Regions from separate parts of the Homo sapiens genome. Here all the other regions are linked to region 5. The links are contacts of gene promoters, found by promoter capture Hi-C in human tissues and cell types (Jung and others, 2019). All regions are on one chromosome and are shown on one strand. The core of a region is centred on a gene start or on the middle of the fragment in contact, and the rest is flanking DNA. Distances in the headings are between cores, read along the strand shown. Region 1 holds the start of MIR194-2HG (MIR194-2 host gene). Region 2 has its middle 7.5 kb from the start of POLA2. Region 3 holds the start of MAP4K2 (mitogen-activated protein kinase kinase kinase kinase 2). Region 4 overlaps EHD1 (EH domain containing 1). Region 5 holds the start of NAALADL1 (N-acetylated alpha-linked acidic dipeptidase like 1).

Evidence for each region. The method cuts DNA at HindIII sites, captures the fragments that hold promoters and counts their contacts. A contact is called where the count stands out against the background at its distance.
Region 1: a contact is called between a fragment that was not itself captured here and the fragment with the promoter of NAALADL1 in region 5, in 5 of the 25 tissues and cell types used here (adrenal gland, bladder, dorsolateral prefrontal cortex and 2 more).
Region 2: a fragment that was not itself captured here is called in contact with the fragment with the promoter of NAALADL1 in region 5 in 1 of the 25 tissues and cell types used here (heart left ventricle).
Region 3: a contact is called between the fragment with the promoter of MAP4K2 here and the fragment with the promoter of NAALADL1 in region 5, in 2 of the 25 tissues and cell types used here (aorta and dorsolateral prefrontal cortex).
Region 4: a contact is called between a fragment that was not itself captured here and the fragment with the promoter of NAALADL1 in region 5, in 1 of the 25 tissues and cell types used here (adrenal gland).

Annotation. Positions count from the first base shown.
Region 1 is chr11:64,892,776-64,895,475 of GRCh38, forward strand. It overlaps ATG2A (autophagy related 2A), which reads right to left. Exons shown (of 41, transcript NM_015104.3): 40 at 2,515-2,667; 41 at 1,771-2,434. The coding sequence ends at 2,198. MIR194-2HG (MIR194-2 host gene) reads right to left here and starts at 674. Exons shown (of 3, transcript NR_133640.1): 1 at 636-674; 2 at 1-51. The HindIII fragment of the contact is 4,598 bases long and covers 1-2,700 here.
Region 2 is chr11:65,253,131-65,255,830 of GRCh38, forward strand. No RefSeq gene overlaps it. Among named protein-coding and RNA genes, the nearest start is that of POLA2, 7.5 kb to the right of the region's middle. The HindIII fragment of the contact is 3,849 bases long and covers 1-2,700 here.
Region 3 is chr11:64,801,964-64,804,463 of GRCh38, forward strand. MAP4K2 (mitogen-activated protein kinase kinase kinase kinase 2) reads right to left here and starts at 1,251. Exons shown (of 32, transcript NM_004579.5): 1 at 1,091-1,251; 2 at 922-979; 3 at 600-690; 4 at 456-520; 5 at 103-158. The coding sequence starts at 1,186. MEN1 (menin 1) reads right to left here. Exons shown (of 10, transcript NM_001370259.2): 10 at 1,553-2,500. The coding sequence ends at 2,371. RefSeq lists silencers at 881-1,060, 1,211-1,390. The HindIII fragment of the contact is 25,459 bases long and covers 1-2,500 here.
Region 4 is chr11:64,864,340-64,867,039 of GRCh38, forward strand. The region is part of intron 2 of EHD1 (EH domain containing 1); the gene reads right to left. Among named protein-coding and RNA genes, the nearest start is that of MIR10392, 13 kb to the right of the region's middle. RefSeq lists an enhancer at 1,483-1,782. The HindIII fragment of the contact is 8,078 bases long and covers 1-2,700 here.
Region 5 is chr11:65,057,175-65,059,874 of GRCh38, forward strand. It overlaps NAALADL1 (N-acetylated alpha-linked acidic dipeptidase like 1), which reads right to left and starts at 1,379. Exons shown (of 18, transcript NM_005468.3): 1 at 1,163-1,379; 2 at 904-1,076; 3 at 701-822; 4 at 197-319. The coding sequence starts at 1,347. The HindIII fragment of the contact is 22,908 bases long and covers 1-2,700 here.

The DNA.
Region 1 (2,700 bases), core at 108-2,607, 160 kb before region 5:
GGTGCCAGTCCTGCAGAGACCCAGCAGGCATTTTGGGAGACTCCAAAGCTTCTGGAGAGAAAGGGGAGCTTTTAGAGTAGACTTGGGCCCTGCCCCCTTTGCCAGTGGTGCATACAGGCCTAGAGAGACAGAGGGGGCCGCCCAAGGTCACAGAGCAGGGCCCCAGGGCCTGTGCTGCCCCAACAACCTTCCCGAAGTGGCGTCCCCCCTTCTCAGGATGCAGTCAGGGTGGGATGGGGGATCCCTGGGCTGGAATCCTTCTGCCTGGGGGGACAGACCTGCGAAGGAAGACACCGTAGCTGGTGGCTGGCCCTCCACTCAGCCTGGCGGCCCTTCCCACAGAGGCCTGGGCGAGACCAGCCTCCTGCAGCGTGGTGTCCAAGTGCCCTGGCCTGGCAGAGACAGCGCCCGATCAGGAATCCTGGCTCCACAGCTCTGAGCGCTGATGCTAAGGCCCCCTTATCCCACAGTGGAAACCAAGGCACAGAGAGGAAGGGGCTCGTCCCGGCCACCCCATGGCTGTCCAGGTCCCTTTCTTCCTCAGGATTGGCCACCCTTCAGAGAGGTGCCTGGGTTCAGGAGCCTCCTAGGACAGGGAGGGCGGCAGGGGTCCTACCACTCAGGAAGCCTCTTACCTGAGTGCCGGGCTGGCCTTCGGGGCACAAGGAGGAAGTGGGGACACCCTGGGCCCAGGGCCTTTTGAGCCGTTGACCCAGCCCCTGGTGGTGGTTAATGATTATCCCACCACCGTCAATACTGATCACAAGTGCGGTTCGAAGGGCAGGAAGCCCTGGACTGTGCCCGGGCAGGGTGGGGCGGGTCCAGGAAGCATCAGGCTGGGCCCCATCTGCCTCTCCGGGTGGCATCAGCACCGAGTCTCCACAGCCCTGTCTCCTCCAGGGCCTCGCCCTCCTGGTCTCTTACCAGCCTGCTGCCCCAGCTGTCCGTGGGCAGCCAGGACCCCAGGGTCCCTCGGGACAAAGCTTCTGCTCTGTTCCCAGTACCCAGATCTCCCCCACTCAGAAGGGGCCACAGAGCAGGGCTGGGGGACCTTTGCTAACCCCAGAGGCCTGCGGAACCTAGCAAGGTGAGGGTTCCCTGATTCCCAACCCGAGCCTTGGTTTCCCCATGGACCCACCCACCTCTGTGCAGCGCCACTGGGAAGCAGGGCAGGGAGGAGCGCGATGGGAGCAGCTCACAAGAAACAAGATGTGTGGGGGGCAATGGGCGCTCCCTGGTCCTGTGTAAAGCTTTGTGCAGTGAGGGTTGGGATTCCGGCTGCAGCGCTGCTCCAGCACCCCTCCCCCCTCCAAGTGCTGGAGCTGGGACCCCAGATCAGAGTGGAAACCAAGGGGCCAAGGCCTGGGCCACCCCAAAAGCCCCCACTAGGGATGGTGAGAGCAACATCTAGAATGCCTCAGGCTCAGCCTTCCCCGAGTGGCCTCAAGTGACAACCAGGCAGGGTCAGCTGGGCTCCAAGGACCATCCCTCCCTCCCCTGGCAGCCCCACGTAGCTCCTGCCACATCAGGAGTGGGGCTGGAGTGGCAGCCTCCTGGGAGGGGCAAGGCAGAGCCCAGAGCCAGGGGAAGGCGTGCAGGGCTGGGTGCCTCTGGGTCCCCCTGTGCCCTGATCTGCTGGGCAAGGCCAGGAGGCATGGCGACCCCTGGTGGTGACATGGGAGGTGCTGGGTGCAGAGGTGGGATCTGGGGCGGGGCCAAGGTCAAGGCTGAGGCCAGGGTTCACAGGGACAGAGGATCTGAGAGGGGGGCTGGCGGTGGGCAGTTTATTCCACTTCATGCAGACACTGACCCACGCACTCACGGAGCTTAAAAATAATACATCGAACCACACGGATATCATCCCCTCCTCCCCCCAGACACAGAAAGACACTTGGCTGAGTGGGATGGGGTCCGAGGGTCCAAAAGCCTCCGTCCTGGGAGAAGGCAGCAGTGTGGGCCCAGGTCGGGGGAGGGGCAGTGTCCTTTCTCCCCGGAGGAAAAGTGCAGAGCCAGGGCTAAGGCCCCAAGGCAGGGAGGCCCCCCTCTCACAGCAGATTGGCAACGGGCAGGCTGGGAAGGCGTCCTTCACAGTGGCCATCCCCTGAAGGGCCAGGCCGGGCCGGGCCCGTGGGCTGCAGCTCTTGGGAGGCTCAGGAGCATGGTGGGCAGCACCCTCTGGGTGCCGGGCACCCCAGGCTCAGTCTTGGGCACTGTCCGAGCGCCACTTGAGGGCGTGGTCCTTGTGGGCGTCGGGGACAATCTGGTTGCGCATGCCCCCGAGCAGGCTGGACGTGGCCTCCGTGGCCAGGATGAGCGGCTTCACCACAGTCGGGGGCAGCTGGCGGATCACGCCCCCCACGGCGCCCGTCAGCCCCTTCTGCTCATGGCCCCGCGATGCCACGTCACAGATGGTCTGAGCTGTATCCAAGATGCCCTGTGGAAGCCAGAGGTCAGGGCGGGGTCTGTGTGAGGAGATGGGCATGGGGGACTGGGGCAGGGCGGGGGCCTGGTCACCTCTCGCACTGTGTCGTAGGCCTTGGCCACACCCTCCCGCAGGTCGGCAGGCTGCTGGCCCCTGCGCAGCCTCCGCGCAGAGCGCTTATCCTGCAGGGAGCGGGAGACGGGGGCTGCCGGGGACAGGATGTCATACACGGTCTCAGCTGTGGCCTGGGGGACATGGGAGCACTGGATGAGGACAGC
Region 2 (2,700 bases), core at 30-2,529, 200 kb after region 5:
TGAGACAGAGTCTCCCTCTGTTGCCCAGGCTGGAGTGCAGTGGCGCGACCTTGGCTCACTGCAATCTCTGCCTCCTGGGTTCAAGTGATTCTCCTGCCTCAGCCTCCTGAGTAGCTGGGATTACAGGCGCCTGCCACCATGCCGGCTAATTTTTGTATTTTTAGTAGAGATGGGGTTTCACCATGTTGGCCAGGCTGGTCTTGAACTCCTGACCTCAAGTGATCCACCAGCCTCAGATTCCCAAAGTGCAGGGATTACAGGTGTAAGCCATCATGCCAGGCCAAAAAGGGAACTCTTATACACTATTGGGGGATTGTAAATTAGTACAACTTCTATGGAAGACAATACAAGGGTTTCTCAAAGAACTAAAAATAGAACTAACATGTGCTCCAGCAATCTCACTATTGAGTGTCTACCCAAAGCAATCATTACATCGAAAAGGTACCTGCACCAGTACATTTACCACAGCACTATTCACAAGAGCAAAGACATGGAATCAACCTAAGTGTCCATCAACAGATGATTGGATAAAGAAAATGTGGTACATATACACCATGGAATACTATTGGGTCATAAAAAAGAATGAAATCATGTATTTTGCAGTCACATGGATGGAACTGGAGGACATACATGGATGGAACTGGAGGACATTCATGGATGGAACTGGAGGACATTAAGTAAAACAAATCAGACACAGAAAGACAAATACTGCACATTCTCAATTCTAAGAGGGAGCTAAATAATATGTACACATGGACGTAGAGTGTGGAATGGTAGAGAACTGAGACTCAGAAGGGTGAGTGGGGGTGAATGGGGGTAGGTGATCAGAGATTACTGAATGGATACAATGTGTGTTATTTAGGTGACAGATACCCTAAAAGTCCTGACTTCACCACTACACAATCTATGCATGTAACAAAATTACACTCACACCCCATAAAGTTATACACATGAAATAAATAAATAGTGTAAAAGACAGTCCTGGAGAAACTCAGACCAGACCCTGAGGACCATGCTACACTGCCACCACCTGGTGGCAATATACCTACAGTGTAGGGCGGTGCCTCCCAAAATTCCCAAATTCCCGACTTCTGGAGAGCATCAAAAATAAATAAAACATGTACTCACACTACTGAACTGTACACTTACAAACGGTTAAGATCATACATGTTATGTTATGTGTTTTTACCACAATTAAAACACAGATGACTAGGCGTGGTGGCTCACGCCTGTAATCCCAGCACTTTAGGAGGCCGAGGCAGGTGAATCACCAGAGATCAGAGGTTCGAAACCAGCCTGGCCAACATGGTGAAACCCCGTTTCTACTAAAAATACAAAATTAGCCAGGCGTGGTGGTGCATGCCTGTAATCCCAGCTACTTGTGAGGTTGAGGCAGGAGAATTGCTTGAACCTCAGAGGCGGAGGTTGCAGTGAGCCAAGATTGCGCCACTGTACTCCAGCCTGGGCAATAAGAGTGAAACTCTGTCCCAAACAAACAAACAGACTAACTAACAAAAAACAAACCACATAAATAACAGTGTAAAATAAATGAAATAAAAGTATAAAATAGGCTGGGCATGGTGGCTCACGCCTGTAATCCCAGCACTTTGAGGGGCTGAGGCAGGTGGATCACTTGAGCCCAGGAGCTCAAGACCAGCCTGGGCAACATGATGAAACCCCGTCTCTACAACAACAACAACAACAACAAAACACTGTAAAACCCCATCTCTACGAAACAAACAAACAAACCAAAACCAAAAATTAACCGGGTCATGGCGGTGTGTACCTGAAGTCCCAGCTACTTGGGAGGCTATGGTGGGACGATCACGTAAGCCCAGGGAGGTCAAGGCTGCAGTGAGTCATGATCAAGCCACTGCACTCCAGCTTGGGCAACAGAACAAGACTCTGCCTGAAACAAAACAAAACCAAACCTAAAATTCCTCTTTGGCATCCTTGGTGTGTGTGTGTAACTATATGCATAATATATATTATTATCTATATATGTTATATATTCTATAAAATCTTATATATGTCACATACTATACATACTTCTGCTATCTGACTCAATTCTCTCAAAGCCACCCTTCATCCTTTTGCAGTTTCCAAACATATAAATTATCAGAGTTAAAATCATGTTCCATCTGATTTCCACTCTGTGCTCACTCCAGGTGGGCTACAATACATGTGACCATCCACTCTGTGTGTGCTAACAACAGTGTAAAACTGGACCCTGGCATTAACCTCTTCTATCATTTCACACTAATGTGAGATCCATGAGGTCCCCATTTGCAATCGGAGTCCAGGAAATCAGCTACAGGAGCTGGTTGTAAATTTCACTCCATTGTTGCCTGTGTGCTCCCCACAACAGTTTCTGTAAACCTACCCAGATGCAATGTAAAGGAACCAACTGGTCCACAGTTACTTTCTGTTACTTACAGCTTCGTGACCTCCAGCGAATCACCTCTCTTTTATTGTTGACAATAAAAGACAGTGAATCACCTGTCTTTTATTGTTGAGTTGTAAGAATTCTTGTTTTTGTTTTTGTTTTTTTGAGACGGAGTCTTGCTCTGTCACCGAGGCTGGAGTGCAGTGGCGCCATCTTGCCTCACTGCAAGCTCCGCCTCCTGGGTTCACGCCATTCTCCTGCCTCAGCCTCCCGAGTAGCTGGGACTACAGGCACCCGCCACCACACCCGGCTAA
Region 3 (2,500 bases), core at 1-2,500, 260 kb before region 5:
GCCCCACCCGAGGCACTCCACCCGCCTCCCTGCTGGTCATCTGGGCTCCTGGCCCACAGCTTCTGGAGACCAGAGGTGTGGGCACCTCACAGGCCCAGCTACCTTCAGTGCCTCTCGGCAGACGTAGGCAATCTGCCGCTCCTCCAGGGGCCCAGTGGCTGAAAGGAAAAGGGAGAGGCTGGCTTGGGGGCCCGGGGGTCATGCCCACCCTCCCAGGCTACCGTGTGTGGGAAAAGCAGCAGGCACTGTTAAATGAAAGCGGTGTTGGCCACGTCCCCTCCCAGTTTAGTCTAGGATACTGAACCCAGAGATGGACAGTATTTCTCTCAAGGTCACACAGCCAGGCAGGAGTGGAGAGGAGCCCAAGTCCAGGGCCCAGAGTCCCCTCTGGTACCCCAGTGGGGTAGGGGTGGGGGAAGGCTGGGGCCTGCTGGGGCCTGGAGCCCTGGCCTCACCATGGTAAATCTCCTGCAGGGAGCCCCCTCCGCAGAACTCCATGCAGATCCACAAGCGGTCATTCCTAGGGACAAAGAGCTGGGGTGGGCACAAAGCAGGTCACATGGGGGCTGCCTGGGGCCAGGAGGATAAGGCAGCCTCACCTGAGGTAGCTGCCAATGTAGGCCACCACATTGGGGTGGCGGCACTCACGCAGGATGGTGATTTCCTGCTGGAGGGAGCTGATGTCGTCCCCTGGGAAGCACAAAGCATCATGGGGAAGGCGCGCTGGGGTTGCCCTGACTCAGTGCCCCCATCTGCAAAATGGGCACAGAGTGCCTCCCTCCGGGCCAGGCAGGTGCAGGTGACAGCACCTCCCGGGGCACGCCTCTCAGGGGTCTCGGAAACGTCAACCCTCCGCCCGCACCCCGCGCCCGCGGGCGCTCTGCCCTTCCTCTGGCGCAGAGGCCCGACCCGGGCCCTCACCTGGGTCTAGCTTGACTATCTTCACGGCGGCCAGTTCGGACGTGACCGTGTCGCGGGCCTGCAGGGGCGGAGGGTGAAGCGGGATGGGGGGCGGGGCCGGGGGCTAGATCCTGCCGCGGGGTGCGGGGCTGGCACCCTCCTCCCGGCTCTCCCGCCCGTCCCGTCGCACCTTGTAGACGTCGCCATAGGTCCCGGCCCCCACGCGCTGCAGCAGCTCGAAGCGGTCCCGCGGGTCCTGCAGCGACACATCCCGCAGCAGCGCCATGGCCCGGCGCCGGGCGGGCCGGCAGGCGGGCGGGCGCGAGCTGCGGAGCCGGCGCGGGGCGGCGCGGGGCGGGGCGGGCGCCCGTGGCTCTGAGGCCGCGGGGGCGGGGCTGAGGCCCGGGGGCGGGGCCGCGCCGGGGATGCCCCACCGCCAGTCCGGGAGGAGGCGCCCGCGGGACGGGCCCTCGGCGGCGCGGGGAAGCCCCAAGGCCGGGGCGGAGCCTACGTCCTTCCGCCGCCACTGTCGCTCGCGCTCCACAGGTAGGGAGCGCAAAGTCCCGGGAGCCAGAAGACAGAGGGAAGAGGGGGCGCTCCACTCCCCGCCCCATCCCCAATTTCCCAGATAAACATGGACTTGCGCTTTATATTTTTTTTAACAAAATGTATTCATCTTTCTTGGAACTGAAAAATAAATCTATGTACAAAACAGGAAGAGATCAGGCTCTTGTCACCCACTCCTAACCCTCTGCAGATTTCCTCCGGGATGCTCCGAGATGGGCTGGACCTCTGGGAGGTTCCCAGAGGGTCGGAAGGGAGGTCCTGCTCTGATCCGGGGCCAGTTTCGTCAGGAAGAGGGCGGGGCTCAGGATGCTCATAGGCTGGGGGCGGAGTTTTGTGTCCCAGACTCGGGATACGAAGGAGAGGAAACTAGGATTTCCAAATTCTGGAGCAGGACTGAAGTTATTTGGGGCAGGGAGCTTGGATTCGCAAGATATGGAATTCTGAAGTGCGGAAATATACTCCTAGGGGCTGAGTGGTCCTAGGCTCCCGGGCTGGAGGTGGGACCTGTGCTCCTTGGGTTAAGGGTGAAACCTCAGCTCCTACAAGCTGGGAGGAGCCCTGAGTAACGTTGGTCTGGCTCTAGGTGAGCGGTTCCGAGGAGGAGCTTGGGTTTCTAGGGGCTGGGCCTTTAAAGACTGGTAATTAGGACCCAGCGTGAGGTTTCCATTGGCCGGCTGGGATTCTGGGAGAAGAGACCTATATTCTAACGACTGGGGCAGAGCCCTGGGTTCTGAGCTGGAGAAAATCGTGGGTTTGATACAGACTGTACTCGGGACCGGGAACCTAGGGTTTGGGTAGAGGTGAGGCCTGTCCCCTTTGGGCTGGGGGCAGAACATGGGCTCAGAGTTGGGGGACTAAGGGCGGAGCCTGGGTCCCCACAAGCGGTCCGAAGTCCCCAGTAGTTCAGAGGCCTTTGCGCTGCCGCTTGAGGAAAGACAGAGTGTAGTCACTAGGGGTGGACACTTTCTGCTTCTTCATCTGCACTTGCGACTGTGCCGTGAGTTGCAGCTTGATGGCGCTCGAGTTGATCTTG
Region 4 (2,700 bases), core at 47-2,546, 190 kb before region 5:
CATGCCACCACAGGCTCCTGCTTCCAAAGTACAAGGCCCCGGGCACCCGGACTCCCTGCAGCTGGCTCTGAGCTCCACAGGAGAGGATGCCCAAAGAGTGAAGTCTCGGCAGAAAACCAGAAAGAGAGGCCAAGGGCAACATGAGGGAAACAGGGGCAGGGAGAGGCCGCCTCTGCCCCCGGGGGATGAGGCCACACTAGCTAAGCCTGCAGCGCCTGCCTGGGGCCCGCAGCCCACAGCCTTTTATGGCCAGCTCTGGGAACGCAGGTCAGTACTGAAAAGGCGATGACTCAAGGACTGAGGTTCCTCGCTCAGCAAAAAGGGGGCCCAGCTTCTCCCCTTGTCAAATCATTTGTCTTCAGCCCGCCACAAGCTGAAACTAGAATTCACACAGCTGGGGAGGCTGTGATGCCAAAACCGAGTTCTTGGGAATGAGGGCGCCCTGATGGGCTGTGCTCAGCCCATGTTAGCTTTGGCCTGGGAGTCAGGACGGCGCCTGGGGAGCTGAGGTCACCCTCCCAAACTCCACCCAGCAAGGCCCCACTCCCCCCTCCCCCTGGATGGCTGGGGGGCCCTGGGGAAAGAGAGAAAAAGGAGGGGAAGGAAGAAAGAAGAGTGAGCACTCCAAAACTCCCTGCCCCAGGTCCAGAAGCCCTGCCCCACCTGCTCTGAAACCCAGTTACTGGCCGTCATCTCAAGCTGGAGTCAACAGAGGTAAGCCCATTTCTTTGCAGGTGACTAAAATTTCCTGTTTATTACAGAAAATGTGCTTTTGCTGTGAGGGAAACACAGTGACTGGCCAGCCACACCCACAGGTGACAAAAAGGGCCACAGCACTCAGGCCTGTGCCATGCAGGCAGTGACCACGTAACTGCACGCCCCACCAGGCCCACCGGCGCTCCTTAGCCCACCAGGCCCTCGCTGCCCTCAAAGGCACCTCACTCAGCCTAAAAGACGCCGGGTTTCAAGAGGTGCCAAAGGCTACACTGCACAGCGGTAACACTGAGCCACTCTCTAGATCAGAGCTGGACGGCCGGTATCAAGTACAGAACAGGGCTTGCCAGCACCCCCGGCACTGCCCAAGGCAACAAGACTTCAGGCTTTGGCACCCACCAAGGTAGGGGCCTTGCTGTTAGCTTGACTAGCTCAGGCCCCAGTGGGAGTGACAGAACTGATGCCGAGCAAAAGGACACAGAAAACATGGCCCAAGCGGGTGGGCTGGAGAGAAAGGCCCACCTGCAGAGGGAGTGGTTTTAGTGAGTAAAAGCCAGAGCCCCCTCTGATAAGGGATCATAAGCCACCAGGAAGCTCTAGCTCAGAAAATCCTGGGACCTAGAAGACATGATGCTAAGTGATGAAATAAGTCTGTGACCTTTTCCAAAGATGACACACACGCGGCCAACGAGCATATGAAAAAACTCTCAGCATCACTAATCATTAGAGAAATGCAAATCAAACCACAATGAGACAACATCTCATAACAGTCAGAATGGCTATTATTAAAAAGTCTAAAAATAACAGATGCTGGTGAGGTTGCAGAGAAAAGGGAACATTTATACGCTGCTGGTGGGAATGTAAACCAGTTCAGCCACTGTGAAAAGCAGCTTGGCAATTTCTCAAAGAATTTAAAACAGAACTACCATTCGACTCAGCAATCACATTACTGGGCATAAACCCTAAGGAAGAGAAATCATTCTGCCATAAGGACACATGCACACATACGTCCATTGCAGCACTATTCACGATAGCAAAGATGGAATCCACCTAAATACCCATCAACAGTAGACTGGATAAAGAAAACATGGTACATATACCACAGAGAATACTATCCACCCATAAAAAGGAACAAGATCATGACCTTTGCAGCAACATGGATGGAGCTGGAGACCATTATCCTCAGCAAACTAACACTAGAATAGAAAACCAAATACCGCATGTTCCACACCAAATACCGCATGTTCTCACTCATCCATGGGTGTGAAACATTGAGTACACATGGCAACAAAGAAGAGAACAACAGACACCAGGGCCTACTTGAGGGTGGAATGGGTGAGGACAGAAAAACTGCCTAGCAGGCTGGGCATGGTGGCTCACGCTTGTAATCGCAGCACTCTGGGAGGCTGAGGCAGGAGGACTGCTTGAGTCCAGCCTGGGTAACATAGCGAGACCCCCCTCTACAAAAATTTAAAAAAATTTGGGTGTGGTGGCATGCATCTGTATTCCCAGCTACTTGGGACACTGAGGTAAGAGGATTGTTTGGGCCCGGGAGGTGGAGGCTACAGTGAGCTGTGATTGTGCCACTGCACTCCCAGCCTGGGTGACAGAGTGAGACCCTGTCTCCAAAAAAAAAAAAAGAAAAGAAAAACTACCTATCAGATACTACGCTTATTACCTGGGTGATGAAATAATCTATACACCAAACCCCACCACACTCCATTTACCTGTATAACAAACCTGTACATGTACTCCTGAACCTAAAAGTTTTTTTAAAACATCCTGCCACAAAAGGACAGATACGGCACTGTAGGATTCCACTGACAGGAGATACCAGGAGTAATCAAGTGCACAGAAAAGGAATATAGAATGGGGAGTGCAGGGGCTGCGGGGTGCAGGGAGCCACGAGGGGAGCTGGTGTTGAACAGGAAGAGTGTCCATTTGGGAAGTGAAGAGCTCTGGAGCTGGATGGTGGTGACGGCTGAA
Region 5 (2,700 bases), core at 129-2,628:
GGGTCAGGGAGGCATCCGAGGCCACACAGCCCATTGGTGGGACAACCCGAAAACACCTTGCCTTTCCTGCCCCACCCTGGGGCTTGGTTCCCCACTCAACACTGCCTCTTCTCCTTCCCCTTCCCCTCACTTCCTCCAGTCCACTGCCCAGCCCCTTCCTCACCGAGGCCTCCTGCACTGGGGGACTGCCACTCACCTTGGCCCCACGCCCTACACCCCCATATCGAGTCAGGGCAATGGTGCCTTCAAGTTTGATGCCCTGAGTCTGTAGCTCCTTAAAGTCTTCTTCCGCGCCCCGGTTGGCATAGACGAGGAGGCCCTAGTCCCAAGAGGGGGTGATCCTTAGAGCTGGGCCCAGCGAAGTGTGGGTGGGGAAGGGGGGTGGAAGTTTGCATGGCAGGAGGGAGAATTTAGATTCTGTTCCCCCACCTCACCCAGAGCTTGTAAGCTCCCCAAGAACAGTCACCCCTCATTTCCTCCATGTCTGGGTGCCCTGTAACAGACCTGGCCTTGAGCAGAGCCACTAGTGTTTGTTGAATGACTGATGGAGGAAAGGAGCAGCGATGGAGTGTCCCGGTGAGTAAATTCCGGAGGGCGCGCTGTGCCCCAGTTGAGGCACGTTCCCTGGGTCAGGGTGGGGAGAACCCTGGGTGGAACCAAGGGAGCTGGGCCAGAGCAGTAGGGGGGGTTCTGGGCCCACCTGTGGGGTTCCAGAAGGAGCATAGGCAGCATAGGGTTGTACCACATCTGGCCCCCCTTGCTCCCCGGTCACGTTCTCCTCAGTCCGGTGGCAGGAGTGGATGATGCCCCCAGTGGGGCCCACTGTTGGAGGGGTGGCAGTATCATGGCTGGGCCCAGCAGCTCCCCACCCCCGGGCATTCCCAAGACTGGGCAGGACCTCACCGATGTCCACGACGTTGGGCTGCTCCTGGCTAGGGAAGGACAGCAGCACTTCGTACGTGGAGGCCTCGGCCGAGTCCAGGCCTGACTCTGGGTCCTTCCAGCGCTGCAGCAGCAGCTGCACCAGGTCCTCATCCCGAGGGCTGGAGGCCAGGTGTGGCTCCCTGGAGAGTTCTCTGCAGGGTGGGCAGAGGGAGGGGCAGGGCCAGCATCAGGGAGGGGGCCTCTGGCAAACGGAGGAGCAGATGGCCCCACTTCTCACCTGAGGTTCTCCCGGATCCTGTGGGCATCCAGCTGCCCCATGACGGTCTCCAGGATCTCCAGGTCCAGGTCCTGGGGGGCCAGTGAGTTGGCTTTTTTGGGGATGGCAAAGTGGCCGAGGATGATCCCCAGCCCCAAGAGGGCAGCAGCCCCCAGCCCCAGCCCCAACACCTTCGTCCACTGCATCCTGCGGACTCTTGGCCAGCTGGGGTAGGACTGGTCTATAGGTTATTCCCTATAGAGGGGGTGTTGTGCCTGGTTAAACATTACCCCATGGGTGGCACTGCCCTTTGACCCCCAGCTGGCAGGGAGAGTGAGGGAACATCCCGCAGTGAGAGCCAGGAGCCATCCACATCCACCACATCCTGCACCATTTGCCTGGAATGGCTCTCCAAGGGCAGCAAGGTCACCCAGGGACACTGAAGCCGAGAGGGAAGGGGCTCATCCAGGGTGTCCCAGGAAAACAGAGGCCAAGCCAGGGCTGGAACTCAGAGCTCCTGTGTTCACAGCAGGGCCGTGCCCACTGCCCACCCTCACTGCCTCTGCCTCCCTCCAAGGCAGCCGATCTACAGCATACCCAGCCCTACCTGCCTGAGCAGATTTTGAGTTGAGATCCCCCTTCTTGCTGGACGTAAGCTGTGTGACCTTGGGCAATCCACTCAGCTTCTCTACACCTGTTTTCTTTTTTTTTTTTCTAGACTGTGTCTTCCACTGACACCCAGGCTGGAGTCCAGTGGTGTGATCTCGGCTCACTGCAACCTCCACCTCCCGGGCTCAAGTGATTCTCCTGCATCGGCCTCCCGAGTAGCTGGGATTACGGGTGTGCACCACCATGTCCAGCTAATTTTTGTATTTTTAGTAGAGATGGGGTTTCACCATGTTGGCCAGGCTGGTCTCAAACTCCTGATCTCAGGTGATCACCCGCCTCAGCCTCCCAAAGTGCTGGGATGACAGGAGTGAGCCACCGTGCCGGCTATGGTGTCATTTTCATTAAACAATATGGCATCTGTAGAAATAGCTAGTGCAGTGTCTGACATGTAGTGGGAGCTCATCAATTTTAACTACTCATCCCTCATCTGACTCTGGAAAATGTAAGGCCTAGAGCTAAAGGAAGAAGGAGGACCCAGAAGAACTCTCTGTGTCTATCCTGAAGGGAGCCCAGCGATACGAGGAATGGGAGTCCTGGGAAGGGAGGCTGTCCCAGAGGAGGCAGCAGGGGAAGCCCATGCCTCCCTGGCGAGGTGACTTCCTCTTCTATCCCCTGGCTCTGCCTGGACTCCGTCATCCACCCTCCTATTTATCCATCCACCCATCCCTCCATTCACTTATTCATTCCTTCCTTTATACATGCAAGCACTGTTCATTCTGTGCTATACTAGAGCCATGCAAGGCTGTGGGGAAGCAAAATCCAGCAGGCGAGGCAGACAGGCTTTAGGTTCAGCCATGTGGTAAGTGCCCTGTAGAGGGAGGATCACCATGCTCCCAGTGAAAGAGTGAGGAGTTCTGACTAGGAGGGAACATCTGAGGGGGTCCTCCAAG